Linked DNA regions of Homo sapiens: region 2 is linked to region 1. Evidence: promoter capture Hi-C in human tissues and cell types (Jung and others, 2019). All regions are on one chromosome and are shown on one strand. The core of a region is centred on a gene start or on the middle of the fragment in contact, and the rest is flanking DNA. Distances in the headings are between cores, read along the strand shown. Region 1 holds the start of PRSS1 (serine protease 1). Region 2 has its middle 100 kb from the start of PRSS1.

What was found. Contacts are between HindIII fragments. The study calls those that stand out against the background at their distance.
Region 2: a contact is called between a fragment that was not itself captured here and the fragment with the promoter of PRSS1 in region 1, in 3 of the 25 tissues and cell types used here (aorta, dorsolateral prefrontal cortex and pancreas).

What each region holds. Positions count from the first base shown.
Region 1 is chr7:142,748,219-142,751,433 of GRCh38, reverse strand. It overlaps PRSS1 (serine protease 1), which reads right to left and starts at 1,962. Exons shown (of 5, transcript NM_002769.5): 1 at 1,910-1,962; 2 at 720-879. The coding sequence starts at 1,949. It also overlaps TRB. The HindIII fragment of the contact is 6,237 bases long and covers 1-3,215 here.
Region 2 is chr7:142,644,888-142,647,724 of GRCh38, reverse strand. It overlaps TRB and the pseudogene TRBV23-1. Among named protein-coding and RNA genes, the nearest start is that of PRSS1, 100 kb to the left of the region's middle. The HindIII fragment of the contact is 4,098 bases long and covers 1-2,837 here.

The sequences.
Region 1 (3,215 bases), core at 713-3,212:
CACCCCAGGCCTTTGCCAACTGTGCACAGTGCCTGTTCCTCCCTCCATTCTTGGCCTGGTGAGAACCACCCTTCTGTGTAATCTAATCCAAGGGTAGCCATAGCATTAGCATCTCCTGGGAACTTGTTAGAAATGTGAATTCTTGGTCCTTACCCCCACCTACTGATCAGAACCTTGGGGAAGGGGCCCAGTGATTTGTGCCTTAACAAGCCTGCAGGGCGTTCTGATGCATACTCAGGTTTGAGAGTTCTTGGTGTAGGCAGCAGTTCTCAGCTCTGTCTATACACTCTACAGTTAGCAGAGGTAGAGTGTAAAATTCTCACTGATATTCACACCCTCTTCCTGAAAATTTTGACTTAATTGCCCTGGGATAGGACAAAGGCATCTGTATTTTTAAAAAGTCTTTCTTAGTTGGCTTTAATGTGTAGCTAACCAGCAAAAGATACTTGCCTGCTTTTCTCACTAGCTCTCACCACCCCAAGATCATCCCTGCCTGCTTTTATGACCACAACCCTTGCTGTTTCATGGATTTGCCTGGGTGTGAGAGGTTCCTGTCTTGTGTTCACTCTCTGCTCTGGAGAGTCCGCAGCTGCCAACAAGTTTTCTTCTCCACCACCTCTCCCATCCATCTTACCCAACCTCAGTAGTTCCCTGGGCTGAAGCCAAGCTCTCCCAGGCAGACTGGCCGGGAGCTTTGCAGTCGGGGGCCCCACACTTACGACTTGTAGCAGTGGCCTGCTGATACCACCCACTGTTCGTTGATGAGGGAGCCACCACAGAAGTGGTAGCCAGAATTCAGGGACACCTGGTAGGGGACAGAATTCTCCTCACAGTTGTAGCCCCCAACGATCTTGTCATCATCATCAAAGGGGGCAGCAACTGGAGTGGAGATGGGAAGGGAGAAGGCAAGTCAATAGCATGTTAGGGGTGGCGCTCCCAGCCTGTGATTGCTTTCTGCTAATTAGAAATCCTTAACAAGCACAGTGAGGCTAGGCAAGGGAGGGAGCTCTGCCACCCCTGGTGATCATCACTGCCTGTGGCTCCCAAGTCTCTGTGCCTGCAGGGCACATAGCTAGGTACCCTGCGGAGGATCCGAGCTCTCCTGGGGTCACCAGGCTGAAGTCGCAAGGAATGTCCTCACAATGCTTCCAGTGGGATAGGAGTTGGGATGTGGTTGTCTCTCCCACTGAGTGCTTCTCTCTTTTATTCATCACCTGTGTACTTCCCCTGGCTATTTGGGCCCTGGATTGTCAGGATTCTTTTGCCAAGCTAGGAAAACCCCCTGTCTGCATAGACCTGGCCATGACCACCTTCCCCCATAGCTCAGATCTGTGCAGTCAGGGCAGAGTTGAGGGCAGCCCCCAGGCTCACTTTGGCAGAACAAAGGTAGACTTTGTTATTGGCCAATAGGACAGCAATTCTTAACCTTGGCTGCATGGCTGGAAATATTAAAAATCACCTGGGAAGCTTAAAAGCCCAGAACACAAGCTCTACCCCAGACAATTGAAGTTAGAATTTCTAGAGCTGAGTCTCTGGCATGAGTAATTTTTCAACCTCCCCAGGTGCATTCGAGGTTAGGAGCAGCTATAGTGGTGCTATTCTGTTGCTGTTGGAGCCAAGCCTGAAGCCTGCTGCTTCATTTCGTGGGACAGCCCCACCTGGCCCCCTTCCCAGCTTCTCCAACCACAACTCGGATATGGATGAATGACAGTGGTGGGAGTGAAGTCAAGGAGAAGGTGAACAGGTGAGACTTAAAAAGAGCCCAAGGAGGATGGGAAGGAGATATGCCAGATGGAGGAAACGGAATATCAGAGCACAGTCAAAAGAGGAGAGGTGGTAAGAATGGAAGGGCATTTGTCGGCCAGGAACGGGGGGGTGGTTGGGGCCTGAGGCAGGGCATGATACTCACGAGCAGCTGCCACAAAGGTAAGGATCAGGAGTGGATTCATGGTGGTAGAGTGTGCCTGACTGGTGGTGGAGGACTCGTCTTTATACCTCACGAGGATCCAGAGAGGAGGTGACTGTGAGGTGAGGGTCACCACTCCTCCCAGCACAAACACACCTGCAGCTTTCCTCTTCCCAGGGTCTTGCATCAGCCTGGCTATGTTTGGCCACTCTCTGGGTTTGTGATTCACAGGTGATAAGGAAACTTTCCTTCTGAGAGCAGAGAGCGAGACCGGCTGTTTCCTGCAAGGATACTGGGATGGGGAAGACAGGGAAAGTCAAGCCCCAGATAACAGAGCTGGGCTTTCTTAGGCCCTGGAGATGAGGGTTAGAAGGAGGGAGAATGGCCTAGCTGTTTACAAATCTTTCCACCTATTGGGAATGTATTTAATGTACTTAAGGAAGGGCAAGCATTGGTAAAAAGCTTGGATTTCAGTTTCCTGGGGCCCACATGAGAGGAGCAAAGTCTTATCTAAGGCTCATTCCTGTGAATATGAAGATGCTTCTCTCCAGTCAGTGTGCAGGAAGGTCAAATGCAAGATTTTGGGGAATGAAAATTCCAACACTAAGGGGTAAGGAGAAGGGAGACTCAGCATTCCATAGGATTCTGGGCTTCCAGATTTCTCTCCTTCCTACCAAGGCTTAAGGATGGGAAGTGTTTCAAAGAAGGAGGGGGCACAGTTTCTGTAGGAGCTTTCTCAGTGCCTCTGGAGGATGGAAAACCAATGGCGCACTCCTCCCCTTCTTCAATGTGAAGACATTTGTCTCTCTCATGTGCATCCTGTCATAGGTTCTTTTTATGCAGCCTCACTGTTGTCCTTGCAATCTGCACTCAGGTGATGCAAACTGACCCACCTGCTCAGGGCTGACAGTCTGAACCAGAATGATCAGATGATCATTTTCTATTTTCGATGCAGTGAGATTATGCTTGGCTCAGTACAAAGTGAATCTTCCTAGAGAATATCCTGATTTGGGCCCTACCAAGGCTACTAAGACACAGTTGTGTAATTGACTGAGGCACAACCTGGCCAGAGCAGTGTGGAAATGGAGATGCTGTCTGTGCTCAAGTCTAATGATGTAGGGAAAGGAGGAGCTTCCTTATGAGGGTGCTTTCCCTTCTCAGCAACTCTGAGCTCAGGCTGGTGATGGGCAGGAGTAAGTAGAGTTCAAGTTTGGATTCTTTGAAAGGTAAAAGAAGCAGAAATGTTCTAGAGACGGTGGACAAAATGGGAAAAGCTCAGAAACTTGGTGTTGAAATCGGACCTGGCCAG
Region 2 (2,837 bases), core at 264-2,763, 100 kb after region 1:
AAAATATAGAACTGTCAATAGAGAATTTGCCAGCGGATATGGATAGGCCATTTTGAGAACAGAAATCCAGGACCACTATCACATGAAGAAGTGCTCAAACTCATTAGTAATTAGAAAATTGCAAAGGAAAGAAAAGGAGGGAGAGAACATTATTCAGCCTTCTAGATTGCTGCCAGTTATTATTATAGTAGTATAACGTAATCTCTCAGTTCCTTTAAATTATTGGTTTTATTTAGTTTTAAAAAATTGTCACCTGTATCTTTATGGTAAACACTGATGATATTCTGGCAGTAGGTGAGAGGGTTGCAGGGGTGGGGGGTGGAGAGAAAGAGAGACAGAGATTGGAATCTCTTTACATTGCTAGACTGAGAACAATCTAGATCACTGGATAAGGATTAAAGGAGATATTAGGATGTAGGAAAACACCCTATTCACTTTTATGTGGGATTGCAGATGTATACAGTGATCCTGAAGAACCCGTGGTGGTATTTAGATAGATAAAATATGCATAGAATTCCATGTCTCAGCAATCATGACTTGCTCTGGGTATATAATCCTATAAAGCAATCATACAAGTCTATGAAGGTATTTGTACAAGAATTTTCAATTCTGGCAGAAAACTGGAGAAAATCTGGCTATGTATTTCTGAAGAAATGGGTATGAGTACTCTCTATCATGTAGAAGCAACAAGACCAAATGTACTTACAGAAAAACGGAGCACTTCCCTTTCTTGAGCTGAGTGGAAAAGTAATATTTATGTGATTTTAAATATATACATACATGCCTACTGCTGAGTGCTCTGTGAGAAGGTTAATGGCTGGATCATGACTGATCTGTTTTTTTCTCTTGGGATTTTGAATTGAGGCTTAGAAAGAGCCAGCCTGGTATTTATCAGTGTAGGGAAATGATGGCAACTGAATTTGTAATCTTTAGTGACCATCTCATTCTCACCACGAGGCCTGGAGAAAAAGAGATGGTGTACAGGGAGAGAAAAGCATTCAGCAGCCAAAATTGAATAAAAATCAGCGCTGGAGAGATAGCCATTCTAGAGCCCAGCCCTAGTGGTGCCTTTTCAGAACTTCTATCACCTCTTGACTTCTGCTAAACACCCTTTATCCTTGTGTTAAATTACACTGTGGCTTAAGCTGGCTCCAGTTATTTTCTGTTACTCCCTTCCAGCCTAATACATCACCTGCTTCCTGAGCTGGGTCTGTGACAAGTTTGTGTGCTAAGAGGAACTGACATTTCAGTGCTGTGGATTGACTGCTGGCGCAGAGATACAGTGCCGTGTCTCCCGGTTCTGAGGACAGGATTGCCAGGCTGCAGGGTGCGTTCTTGGGGCATTGAGATGAGAATCGCTTCTTGTGCATCTCCGTTTCTTGAAGAACTTGTTCATTCTGAAAGGAAATCAAAAGCATAAACTCTTTATTCTGATTCTGTTGATACCAATAAACAAAAGTATGTCCTTTTTCGGGGGTACAATCCATCTTTGTTTTCTGTCCTTTTCCTTTGACCAAATGTCCTGGAGTCTGTGTGACTTTGGCATGAAAAGAGTCTGTAAGAGAAAGAAACAGATGCTGTAGAAAGAGTCCAGGAAAGAGCTTAACAAACAAAACAAAACAAAACAAAACAAAACAAAACAAAACAAAACAAAGCTTGGATCTGCTGGTTGGCAAGCCCAGGACAAGGATTTTTCTTTTGTGCTCAGGGCGCATCTGCTGCCAGGAGACACAGGGCTGCACAGCCGAGGAGCCTGGTGCCCATGATCGCATTGACGTTGCAAAGGGATGAGGCTTTTTCATCCCCTTTCTGCACCTTCTTGTGACGTGATCCCTCCACTGACTTATAATCATCATGTTATTGCTTCATGTTCCTGAGCAAAAACACTTCATAGTATCAGGGAAAAAAAGCTTTTATCCTAACTCAGGAAATATAACTCAGTTATTTTGTATTCATTTAAAAATATGTTATGTCTATTTTTGCTAATATAAGCAATACACTCATATTTTAGAAAGTTAGAAAATAAAATAACAAAATAAAAATATGATACCACTGCCAGAAAGCAATTATCACTGTTAACACCTTAGTGAGTCTTTCTAGATCCTTCTCTGCCCCATATATAAATGTGTAGATATATAGACACTTTTTTTAGTAAACAATATTCTTGAAATTCTGTTTGATAAGCTTTTTTTCAGTTAATGATCATCCTTTCTCATCGATGCATTTTCATCTTATCTACTATTTAGTTTTTATGCAAAGTTTCACAGTTGTTTCAAAAACGTCCTTTGCCATTAATTTGAGCATCAGTTTCTAACTCAAGACTGGACATTCCTTCTGGCTATTAGTTATCTAATTATCTTTTATATATTTCAGATCTCTGTTGTAATTGCTATCTTTATGATTCTGAAACTAGTGACTGCTTTGAAAAATACTTCACCTTCTAGCTCTTTCTGGTGTATTTTAGCTTGTTCATTTACTAGTGCTTCTTTTACATAACCTCCCTTTTTTGCTTTTTCTCTCTGTAACTATTTATTTTAAATTGTGCATTTTTTGATGATTTTTTTTTTCGCTTACTTTTCTCTTCCTCCATCTCATCCTCATTTCAGGTAAGTAATGTTAACAGCTTAATGTATATCTTTCCATAGATTTCTCCTTACTAATTTAATTGTTCAGTGAGGTTGTTTTCTCCACATTACAAAATGGACTTTGAATATATAGATAATAACTTGATAAAATACCAACAGAATGATCACTTAAAAAAACAACTTGGCACAGGAAATAAAAGATTACCAGAATATTTGAAAGCTCTTATTTCTTTTCCCAGATTCCATGCCTCT